Regions from separate parts of the Homo sapiens genome. Here region 1 is linked to region 2. The links are contacts of gene promoters, found by promoter capture Hi-C in blood cells and fetal thymus (Javierre and others, 2016). All regions are on one chromosome and are shown on one strand. Each heading gives the region's core, a stretch centred on a gene start or on the middle of the fragment in contact. The rest is flanking DNA. Distances are from core to core; before and after follow the strand shown. Region 1 has its middle 35 kb from the start of PBDC1. Region 2 holds the start of ABCB7 (ATP binding cassette subfamily B member 7).

Region 1 (6,674 bases), core at 2,831-5,330, 980 kb before region 2:
AAATTCTTCTTTTAGTTTGGGCGATCCATCTCACACCTTAGCTCTGGGCAAGAACTAATATGCATCTCTCTACAACATTCCAAATTACTACCCAGTTTGCAAAAAGAATAAAAAAGGTGAACTCAGACAAAGGTTTTCTAAGTGACTCAGCAGCAATACTTTGGGGAGGTTTTGTTTTGGACTGAATTTTTATATTCCATCAACATTTATATGCTAAAATCTAATTCTCAGTCTAACGGCATTTGTAGGTGGAGTCTTTGGGAGGTAAATTTAGGTCATGAGGGTGGCATGCTCTCTCTCTTTCAACCATGTGAGTATACAATGAGAAATCAGCACTCTGCAACCTGAAAGAGGATCTTCATCAAAACACTGGTCTTGGACTTCTAGCCTCCAGAACTGTGAGAAATAAATGTCTGTTTCTTATAAACCACCCACTTTGCTTTGTTATAGCAGCCTGAACTGTCTAATACAGGCCTGCAGGTCAATGACCATACATTTGGTCACTGCAGCCTAAAGAAGTTTTAACAGATGAAGAACGAGGTTATACTAAAAAATGTAGGCTGCCTTATTTCAGCCTGTTAAGTTTGCCATCTCCTATGTTCTAGGCATCTGAGTGAAGAGTCTGTCTCAGTATCCTGAGTCCCAGGTCCTAGAAGATGTGTTCCTTCCCCAGGGTATTCCCTATGTGGAAACTGTGATCATTATGTTCTGCTTAGAGGAAAGCTGAGGTGAACATGGGCAAAACCCAGGCCCATGTGTAGAACAGCTCAACTAAAAACTCCAGAGTCTCCCAAGAAGGCCTTTCATAGAAGTCAAGCAGATCAGCAATATGTCAGTAAGTGTTCTATTCATCTAGGCTGGAAAGGTCACACATAGGTTTTATGTGTTGGACACAAAACTAATGGCAGCCACACTAAATAAGATCCACAAGGACATGCTTGTGATATGTATTTCTGGTGAAAGGACTACCTAAGTAGCCTGAGGGATTATTGTATGTCATAACAATGCTGAATATCACTGAGACACAATAATTTGGGATTTTCTATTTGATGTGATTTGACAGGCACTTTTGTATTAACTGTAAAGTGACATGCCTTGCTCTATTCCAGAATTAATGATATTTGAGATGTGGAGATTAATTAAACCCATAAGTTAAACATAAAAGTTTATATTATTGGAATTTTGGAGAGGTCCCTGAAAATGTAATATCTCTCTTATTTCACTCCCATGCAATATTTCAAGACCTCCATCTCTATTCTCCCAATGAAGTCTCAGGAGTATTTATTGAAGTTTCATTAGGGCTTTCACACATACTTAAGAGAGAGATGCATTAGCACTCCCATACATGGTTAAGTAGCTCACTTTGTCAAAACACTCTCATCTGCTACCTGGTGCACCCATCATTTGTACAAATTCAGTTGTATTTCTCCCTAGAGGTCAAACAGTGCAAGGACCGTGCCCTTAAACAGATCCAGGCTTTTGTCCAAAATTTCCTCCAGCTGAAATTCAGATTATCTTCTTCTGGTTTATAGATCTATAACCATCTAATTCCACATAAAACTGATTTTACTCTGAAATTTTTCCTGAACTTTGGTGTGAAATCTGTCCCTTGGTAGCATCTATTTACTGAACCTGCAGTATAGCTATTGGGTCAGGTTTGAAGTCACTCCATTTTCCCCACAACACACCTCTGTTATGGTTTGAATGTGTCCCCAAAATTGTATGTGTTATACCTTAATCTTCAATGTGGCAGTATGGAAAGATAGGGCCTTTAAGAAGTGTTTGGGTTATGAGGGCTTTGCCCTTATGTATGGATCAATCCATTCATGGATTAATGGATTAATGGATCGTCATGGCAGTGGACCTGGTAGCTTTATAAGAAGAGGATGAGAGACCTGAGCAAGCACACTCAGCCCTCTCACCATGTGATGTTTTTCTGGAGTTCCTTATGCCCTTTATTAATGCTACCTCAGGACTCTGCAGAGAGTCCCCACCAGCAAGAAGGCCCTCACCAGATACAGCCCCCAAACTTGGACTTCTCAGCCTCTATAATTGTAGGAGATAAATTCCTTCTCTTTATAAATTATCCAGTTTCAGGCATTCTTTGATAGGCAACAGAAAACAAACTAATACACCCTCTTCCCCATAGGAGCCAAAACCAGGGGCCAAGATGTTGCTGGAGGTCTTCTCTTGGTTACTTATCCCCAGGCCATTCTGCTCTTCCTCATATGACACAGTTCAGAGTTCCCTCATCACCTTAGCTACGGCCCTGAAATAGCTCCAGCCTCATGGTGTCCTCTCTAAAATGTGATGATCGGCTCTGAGCACCATACTCCTTTTTTGCTATGACAGGTAAGAAGCAGAGTGGGCCTATTGGCCACTTTCTTCCTGGATTCTGAATTGCTATTTATGCAGCCCCATCACAAGGCTAACACACACTGGCTCCACTAATTGGGAACTGATTTAGGAAATGTTCATTTAATTGGAAAAACATTTTATGTACCCTGGGAAGGTCACACTTTACCCAGCCTGTTCATTTCTCTGCTCAAATCATTATCATACTGAGCAGAAGAATTTCCAGTACTATTCAGCTTTCATGAATTATAGAATGTTTGAGATGGAAGATGTTTGAGGAAACAGAGATTCAGGGAAATGAATTTGTCTGCCTAAGGTCACCCAGGGAGTTCGTGGCTGAGCATACCCTAGGACTCAGATTCCTTGAAGCCCAGGCCAGACTCTTTGGGGCCTCAAAGAAGTCAGCCCCAGATGACTCTTCTACAGCTCTTATTCAGGGCACACCTTAAGAGTGGAAACAGAAAATCCCTAAAGCTGCCAAATATTTCTGTCTTGACCTGATACCTTCCCCATACCTTGAACGCTACTGCCTGACTTCTTGAGGAGCCAAACCATGAGAGAAACTCAGAGTGCATTAATAAAGGGCTTAAGTAACCATAGGAAAACATAAGCCTGTGCCAGAAATGCTGCCACCAGGAAATTTAAATCTCTGCAGGACTTATGGTACTTGATTGGCTCCATGCTCTGTGGGCTGATGCCAAGCCCAAGAACCAAGGTAACTAATTCTTAGGGAAGTCCAAGTAGACACCAGAAGAGGAAACCAAACCCTCATGGTAAATAAAAATCATTACCAGAATATTGTTTCCTTGACACAGCCTCTGACAGCCATGAGTGGCTCTCCACATCTCTTAAACTGTGACAGGTGGCAGTAACCCAAAAAAGCTCAGACAATGGTCCCAAAAGTAGCATCCCCTTGGGTTTTCATCCATTTTCTGAGTGTGTCAAGTTCCTACTGGACTTAACTTAAATCTACAACTAGGGAAGAGAATGAGTGCCATGAGCAAGAGAACAAGTAGGAAGGGGTAAAGCAGGGAAAAGACATATGGAGGTACAGCTGAGACTAATGTCTTGAGCAAAAAATATTTGTGTTCCCTTCTAGTCCTATTCATGCTTGACCACCCTTCCAAATTCCACCCCAATGAACTTAGAGTCTCAAAAACCGCATAAAAAATTCCAGGTTCAGACACTGAAGCAAGGAAAGGGACAGCCACTTATACAAAATTATAAAGTAAACTAGCAGCAGTATCACAGAAGCCTCCTGACTTCCAGAGCAAAGATCTTTTTACAAACATCCCAGCAAGTAATTTCACTTATTCAAGCTTCCATTTCCTCATCTAGAATGAGGGAATAATAATATTACCTACCCCAAGAATCTGCTGTAATAAACTAATGCCTGGAAAACACTTAGCGAAGTCCCTGACCACTGTAAAAGCTCAATCTATATTAACCATTATTATTATATTGGGTTATCTTCTCCACTTGCCAGAATGCAATGGGCTGCCAGCTGCAACCCTATTGTCACTTCTACATCTAGCCTCCTATCTTGCACATACACTTTGAGTTTCCAACTTCTAGTTTCTTTATTGACATAGAAAGGAAGATACTATCTGTGGGAAGGAATAGAAAAAGGAAAGGTGTTTTGAACTACCTCAGATATCAGTGCTAATAAAGTTTTGAGGGAGATGGCAAATTTTCTGACTGGTATAACTTTTCTGTTGCTGAGCCAGGAATCAAAGTGTGAGAGGGATAAAGCATGTGAAATACTGAAAAGAGTTCTATTATAGTTTGGAGTCTGGCATGCCTGTGTTTGAACCTCAGATGTGCCTCTTATTACATGGCCTTAGGCAAGTCAGTCACTTCAGTTTTCCAAGACAAAGTTTCTTCACTTGTCAAATATGGCTCATAATTTCACATCCTCACAGGATCATTATGAAGAGTTCCAAGGGAGAAATGATGAAGTGTGTGTGTGTGTGTGTGTGTGTGTACACAGACAGATATACGTTCCTCCACATATAGTGAGTATTCAATAATTGGGTACTACATCACTCAATTTAGAATTTATGGGAATGTTTCATATATTCTGGCAATGGGTTCATTCTCAGTCTTACTTTTCAGAGTTACTGCAAGCTTTCCTCCTCTTCTGGATCTTCTTTTGTATATTAGTCAGAAGCCAAGAAAGGCAACATCAAGTACTGCTTATTAAAGACCATTTTAAGCTGGAAACCCATTACTAAAAATCAAAGATATGTGACTATTTTTTCACCAATTGTAATTACAAAAAAATTCACCCAAAAAATTGATAAAATACTGTTAGCAAGGCTATGGGAAATTTTGACACATTGTTGGTGACAGTATAATTTGGCACACATGTTGAAGGCAATTTAGGGCGTCTATCAACTTATGAATGCATAAGGCTCTAACAAAACAAATTAACCTCTGGAAATTTATCCCACAGACATGCCGGTATTTGTATATATTTTAAAAAAATATGTGCCAGGTTGTTTACTGAAGCATTGTTTGTAAGAGCAAAACCTTAATGTCTATCATCAGAGCAACACATTAAATAAATTATGGTACAACCATACAATGAAGCTACAAAAAATAACAAGGAAGTGTTCAATGTACTGACATGGAAAGACCAGTGAGATATATTTTAAGTGACTTAAAAAGTGTATATTGTGCCTAGTGCTGTGGCTCACTCCTGTAATCCCAGTATTTTGGGAGGCCGAGGCGGGTGGATCACCTGAGGTCGGGAGTTCAAGACCAGCCTAACCAACATGGTGAAACCCCGTCTCTACTAAAAAAAGAAATACAAAATTAGCCAGGCATAGTGGCGCATGCCTGTAATCCCAGCTAATCGGGAGGCTGAGGGAGGCGAATCACTTGAACCCGGGAGGCAGAGATTGCGGTGAGCCGAGATCGCTCCGCTGCACTGCAGCCTGGGCAACAAGAGGGAAACTCCATCTTAAAAAAAAAAAAAAAAAAAAGAAAGAAAGAAAAGAAAAGAAACAAAAAGTGTATATTGTATGCTACAAATTATATGAAAAAGTGGGTGGGGGCTATCTCCTTATGTAAACACACACAAAGTTTACAGAAGAAATGAATAAAAATAGTTAACTGTGTGGGTGGAGAAGGTGGGAACTGGGGAGATGGGAGATTAAGCTGGAATAGATACTTTATGCTTCTTCTATTTGGTTTTTGATACATGAAATATATTACCTTTTCGGTAAGTTTTATTTTAAAAAGACAATCAGCCCGGGGCGGTGGCTCACGCCTGTAATCCCAGCACTTTGGGAGGCCGAGGCGAGCGGATCATGAGGTCAGGAGAACGAGACCATCCTGGCTAACACGGTGAAACCCCGTCTCTACTAAAAATACAAAAAAAATAGCCGGGCTTGACGGTGTGCGCCTGTAGTCCCAGCTGCTGGGGAGGCTGAGGCAGCAGAATGGCGTGAACCCAGGAGGCAGAGCTTGCAGTGAGCCGAGATCGCGCCACTTCTCTCCAGTCTGGGTGACATAGCAAGACTCCGTCTCAAAAATATAAATAAATAAATAAATAAATAAATAAACAGACAATGATAAAGTTGGAAAACTTTACAATATACATGATACAAAATTGATATCCTTATTGTATAATCTTACCAACTAACGTACATTCCCAAATCATTATGTACAAAGATGATAGTCATTGTACTTTATTAATGGTAATGAAATACGAAGAGCTAAATGTGTGATAAGACAGTGAGTAAATAAATGATAAGATATGGATCTTTGGCAGGTGAATTATTTGGCAACCTTTAGAAATACTGTTCTGGGATAATTTTTGAATTTTATTATGTATAAATATATATTATTTCAATAGCTTTTGGGGCACAAGTGGTTTTTGGTTACAAGGATGAATTGTATAGTGGTGAAGTCTGATTTTAGTGCACCTAACATCTGAGTAGTGTACATTGTACCCAATATGTAGCTTTTTATTCCCCACACCTTCCCACCCTCTCTGCTTCTGAGTCTCCAGTGTCCATTATACTACTCTGTCTGCCTTTGCATACCCATAGCTTAGTATCCACTTATAATTGAGAACATAAGGTATTTGGCTTTCCATTCCTGAGTTACTTCATTCAGAATAATGGCCTCCAGCTCCATCCATGTTGCTGAAAATACATTTTTTTTATGGTTGAGTAGTATTCCATCGTCTGTGTGTTTGTGTGTGTGTATACATACCACATTTTCTTTATTCACTCATCAGTTAATGGGCACTTAGGTTGGTTCCATATGTTTTCAACTGTGATTTGTGCTGTGATAAACATACATGTGCA
Region 2 (6,160 bases), core at 1,435-3,934:
TAACAACCTCTCAAGTAATGCCAATGCTAGTGGTCCATGGATCACATTGGAATAGCAAGATTTTAAGGGAAATAACACAAGGCAATGGTGATACAGAGTGGTGGGGACAGGGGGTGGCCTCTTCAGATAAGGTTCTCTTGGAAAGCTTCTCTAAGCAGGTGACATTTGTTTTGAGACCTGAAAGATAAGAAAAAGTCATTTAAAAATCTACAGGAAAGATATTCCTGGTAGAGGGGAAAGCAAGTGGAAAGGTCCTGAGGTGAGAATAAGTTCTGGTATTTTTTAGAAACAGAAGACCACTGTGGCCTTCTTAAATTGCTCAAGTGTTTCTTCCACATTTCAGGTGTTATTAAGTGAAAAGAGCACTATGTTTGGAGTCATAAAACCTAGGTTTGGTCTCCATCCCATTAGCTCTGTGGCCTCTGACCTAGTCACAACTTTTCTTAGCCTCAGTTTCCTCATAAATATGGGCATATTAATAAATAATACCTATCTTCCATGGTCGATGTGAGGACTAAATGAAATAAGGTATGACAAAGCGGATTGTAAGTTACAAAATACTATACACATTTAATTATTGCATACATAAAGTGCTATCATGTGATCTGTGGTTGTAGCAGCTATTTATAGCAGCTTTTATTGTGTATACCTCTGTCTCTTTAATTTATGTCAGACAGTTATGTGTCAAGTTATTACAGGCTGAGTTGGCCTTTTTGTTGCTGCTCTTCCCCAGCAGTGTGCAACTCTTATTATGCCTCACGTTCTATTTCTGGGTGCCCTGGAAATTTTCTTCGGCTTATTTGGCAAATAAATATTTGCCTCACTTTAGCTCATCATAGAGTAACAACTTGGGTATTTCAATGTTATTCACACTTTTTGATCAAAACAGTTGGCTTACAATGAGCACTACTTTTGGAAAAAAATAATTTGGCTCCATTCAAAGACTTTACAACTGGGTGGTAAGATTCAGTGGCAATATTCAGCCCTAAGAGAAATCATTAGTAGAGTCTAGAGTTTCTCTAATGTATACTGTAGCTGTCTAACACAGAATAGATGCTGAATAAATATTTGTTGATGACAATATAGTCATTAATATGAAGCCATTACTGATCTACTGTCAACAATACAATAATAAGCTAGAAACATCCAATTAGTCACTAAGTCTTGCCAATTCCATCTCCTAATTGCCCTGCAATCGATCTACTGCCACTGCTACTGCTAGGTTGAGGCCTTTATTTTATGACTGAACTATTGCATTAACTTCATGACTTCAATATGAACTCCGTCCAATCCAACCTTCTCACTTAAGCCAGAGTAGCTTAATGGACATATAAATCTGATCATGTTACTCTCCTGATTAAAACTCTTCACTGGTTATAGGATAAAGTATTAACTTCTTAGAATGAAATAGAAGGCCCTTTACCATCAGGTCTCTGTTCACTCAGGTTAACCTCCTACTACTTTCCCAAACTCCATAGACTCCTGAACCTGAAAATATTTTCTTATGCCTTCTTGCTTTTAACATGTCATCTTCTTTACGTGTAATTCCAGTCAACCTCTTCAACTTGAATTCTATTTTTCTTTAAATAACTAGCTCAAGCATCCCCTTGAATGAATCCCAGAACAAAAAAGCTAACTGCATGGGCTACAGATTTCTGTTTTTCTTTATCAGACTTACTAGTCCAAAGTACCTCTTCATAAGAAGTCCATAATTATTTGTCTCTTTTGTGTGAAAAGTTGGAGAATGCAGCAGTGAATATAAAATTGCAACTGCATTATTGTCTCCGGGGTTTCAGGTAACATTTACAACTGGAAATGCAGTTTCCTAGATAACTGTAAACATATTTTGACATTTTGTTTGATAATAGTGGTGACAAAAGAATATAAGCCTGTCTTTAAACATGGTCTTCTCTCCATACATTTCACTTTACCACCCTTCAGCCAACCTAAGCGATTTTTCAAGAATTAGGGACGCTGCAAAAACCAAAGCGAAGAGCTAGAAAGAGTGACAAAATTAGTAAAGATGTCTGTAGTCTCTCTGTGTGTGTGTGTGTGTGTGTGTGTGTGAGACTGTCCCACGAGCAACAGACCAAAGGAAAACTGCCCCAAGGTTTGCGCAACAGAGAACAATCAGCAAAGTTAAAGTCCTTACAGGACAGAAAAGCAGTAAATCTTACAGCTGAAGCCTCCTCCCAGGGGAAATTAACGTCTGTAGTTTAATCTTTCCTTAATTCAGAAGGGAGTGAAGATAAGAATATGCATAGGGAAAATGGAGAGAGGGGAGCGTGACATTGAGTTGGAGGAGGTAAGAGAGTATTATGAGAGACAAGATGGGGTTGACAGATTTAGCAGATACAATATTTGGGACACACGCACGAAGAGATGATTCGTTGTTTATGTAAAATTGAAACTTAACTAGGTAGGCATCCTGTATTTCATCTGGCAACTCCAGGAAAAGAGAAAAATACAGTGTTACTCCAATATTCCCGGTTGTGTAAGGAAAACAATCAAAGCTCGGCCCTAAGGAAAAACAAATAAAAGAGGCTGTGCGAATGCATCCGAATCTTCAAACAGAATCCATTTCCGGTCTGGGGCCCTGGGAAAACAAGAAGAGGAGAGACAATTAAGGTAGCCGAATTCAGTCCGCCAGTGTCCCATAATCCTCTTCTCTCGGTTCCTCTTTCCTCGCTCAAGATGGCGCTGCTCGCGATGCATTCTTGGCGCTGGGCGGCCGCGGCGGCTGCTTTCGAAAAGCGCCGGCACTCCGCGATTCTGATCCGGCCTTTAGTCTCTGTTAGCGGCTCAGGTCCGCAGTGGAGGCCACATCAACTCGGCGCCTTGGGAACCGCTCGAGCCTACCAGGTGAGATGCCACTGACATGGAAGAATAGGGTGAAGGGCAAGGGGACCTGTAGGGAAAAGGTTGCCCTCCTGACCTCGGGGCAGAGAGAGCACCAAGAAGAAAGTCATGGCTAACTGGGAGCAGCAGTAAGTGAAGGAAATTAACGTCAGTAATTTGAGGAAAGGGCGAAGAAGAAAACCTTTGAGTTCAGCAAAGGGAAACGGGGCAGGAGGTTCTGGGCAGAGGACACCTGGAGCGCTGGAGGCTCTCGGAGTCATAGTTTTTCTCTCATATTAAGAGTTGGGGTAGACACCATTCCCAGCCTGCTTGCCTTTCTAAAGACGAGGAAGACTGGATTATTTTCCCCAATTAGTAATGGAATTTGGGACAGTTTATCTGTGGTTCAGATTTTACTCAGTTGGAATTAGCAATTCGGAGAGCACTGTAATGACAGCAAGCTATCTATAAACAGGTGGCGCCAGTTAACTCCCTTGCTGACAGGCGTGCTTCTTGATAGGCCAAAACCGTAACTATCTTTCCAAAACATAGACCGCCCTAAATTCTTGTATAAATATGACTGTCCTAGATCTGAAAAATACAGTGATGTTCTCTGTGCACAGGTCATTTTGGAAGCCATAGGCTACTTATCCTTAACTTATGAATGTAGCTATGGTTGTAGTGCCTCCTAAAATTTGAGTCCATTATTACCTCTCACTCAGGAACGGTTTTTTAAAAAATTATTTGTACTTAACTGTACTAAAGTATATCTTTTTATTTTCTGTGTATTGACAAGAGGTTTAATTGCCACCACGTATTTATCACTATCACTTTAAAATATTGTCAGTTTTGTATGAGAAACAACCTCTTAAATTTTGATTCTTCATCTACAAATATTTAACGTCTACCTTGTACATAGCCCTGTGCTAGATGATAGGGTACTAAGAGAGACATACAGTTATGCCTTCAAGGATTGTACAGTTTAGTTAAGGAGATTGGATCTATGCATTACAAAAATAACTGAAAAACACAGTGGTGGGTTAATTAGCAAATGAATAGTATGTACAATAAAGGCTATAGGCATCCAGAGGAAATAGTGATAATTAAGGACCAGGTTATAAAGAGTATTTCATGCTGGTGATAGAACTGGGGAGAATGTTCTGAACAGGGAGAATAGGGAATGACACTAAGCATGTGGAAGGCTGATGGAATGACATTTATAATTCATTCAGTAATTATTGAACACCTCTACAGGAGCAAACAAAATATAAGTCCTGTCTTTAAAGAGCTTAAAATCTAGTGGGAAATATGTAAATTAATCGGCAATTAAAATATAGTGGAGCTGTGTAATAATGGGAAAGGTACAAGGTATGGGACAGTATATGTGAGGGGTATTAAGTCTAATTGTAAGGTAGTGAAGATTGCCTTAAGTAACTGATATCTAAGGCAAGAGCTGAAAAATTAGAAGTTAGCCAGTTAAAGAAGGAATCGCATGTGCAAAGGCCCACAAGTCAGAGAGAACATGGACCTTTTCTAGAACTGCACGTAGTTTAGACTGTAGTGAGTCATTCAAGATAGGAAATAGCAGATTAGGCTAACGAAGCGAATCTAGATGATTTCATTAAGGTTTTTAAAGTATTTTATGGTTGAAAGTTTCTAACACATGATCTCTTGGGAATGGTTTTTGTTCTGTAGTTCTCCAATAAGGCAGATGAAGTTAAGATAAAATTTGTAAATGTTATCTTAGATAAAATTAGATATCTTAAGATAAAATTTCTTAAGCTGGAAGAATGAGGGGGAAGAGGGAAAAGGAGAAGTTATTAGGAATCTCAGAGGAGGCAATGGCAATACAAATTTAGCTTTCTCTCTTTCCATGAACGCTATCTCCACAACTTCCTTCTTCCACTCTGTCCTTTACATCCTACCATTTCCTTTAGTTACCATTTCCTCAGTGTGCAAAACAAGGGAAAGATGTTACCTTTGTTTTCTGTTTCTTAAAGGCATGGAACTCTTGCCATCCTTTTTTTAAAACAGGGTGAGAAAGGAATGATTACAAAGTTTTCAAAGTAGAAGCTGAGGTAACCTGAGGTACCTGCAAATTTGTGACTTGTGATTAAGATTACAAAATAATTACTGAATTCATACTTTTAGGACGATCATTAGTATATAGCATAATATTTTAGAGCTGAAAGGAACCTTAGAGCAGTGTTATGAAATAATGTTAGTGGGTTGGATTAGCACTTTTTTAGATGAAATTCAGTAGAATATAAAGAAAATAGCAGTGCTTTTTACATCTTAAGTGAAGTATTGTTTCATGAACTTTTATGTGTATATACACACACACATATATATTTTATATATATATATACACACACACACACGCACACACACACACACACAGTCCCACATGTATGTGATTACTGGAATTCATTGTAAGTATTTCTCACCCAGTATATGCCCTAGACCTGGGTTGTGGAATATGGTAGTTCTTTTGGATAGGTACTGTTTTGTTTTCATTTGTTGGTCTGACCTCATGGACCAAGAATGGGAGCTTTAATTTCTCCCAGTAGCAAGTTCCACCTTCCTACTCTTCCACCATTGGCTGCTAAGAGTTAGCAGAGTAGATAAAAATTAAAATACTTTACTCCTGGCTTTCATATTAACTGAAGTGGGAATATAATAACAACACTAGGGAAATAATCCTCCTATTCTATATTTTAGAGGTTCTAGTTCATATTTAAATTTAACAATATAAGATGCCTATGAAGAAACTACAGTGATTATTCAACAGTCGTCCCAAAATATACTAAAAGAATAGAAAACAGAACTTATTCATCCTGGCTAACATGGTGAAACCTCGTCTGTACTAAAAATACAAAAAAAATTAGCCGGGCATGGTGGCGGGCTCCTGTAGTCCCAGCTATTCGGGAGGCTGAGGCAGGAGAATGGCGTGAACCCGGGAGGCGGAGCTTGCAGTGAGCTAAGATCGCGCCAGTGCACTCCAGCCTGGGCGACAGAGCAAGACTCCGTCTCAAAAACAAGCAAACAAACAAACAACAACAACAAAAACAGAACTTACAAGAGAAATAAGGGTGTCTTTAAGTGGATTATAGATCATGGAACTGAAAAGGGTGAGAGGTGATTCAGTGACATTTAAAGTACCTGAAGCGGCCTGGCCCAGTGGCTCATGCCTGTAATCCTAACACTTTAGGAGGCCAAGGCAGGTGGATCACCTGAGGTCAAGAGCTCGAGACCAGCCTGACCAATATGGTGAAACCCCGTCCATACTAAAAATACAAAAAGCAGCTGGGCATGGTCACGT

What was found. Contacts are between HindIII fragments. The CHiCAGO score rates a contact against its expected background, and 5 or more counts as called.
Region 1: a fragment that was not itself captured here is called in contact with the fragment with the promoter of ABCB7 in region 2 in 5 of 17 cell types (total B cells, total CD4 T cells, naive CD8 T cells and 2 more); the score reaches 8.6 in total B cells.

The regions. Positions count from the first base shown.
Region 1 is chrX:76,134,562-76,141,235 of GRCh38, reverse strand. No RefSeq gene overlaps it. Among named protein-coding and RNA genes, the nearest start is that of PBDC1, 35 kb to the left of the region's middle. The HindIII fragment of the contact is 808 bases long and covers 3,677-4,484 here.
Region 2 is chrX:75,152,807-75,158,966 of GRCh38, reverse strand. It overlaps ABCB7 (ATP binding cassette subfamily B member 7), which reads left to right and starts at 2,684. Exons shown (of 16, transcript NM_001271696.3): 1 at 2,684-2,862. The coding sequence starts at 2,695. It also overlaps a transcript of UPRT not described here. RefSeq lists an enhancer at 2,574-3,003. The HindIII fragment of the contact is 6,846 bases long and covers 148-6,160 here.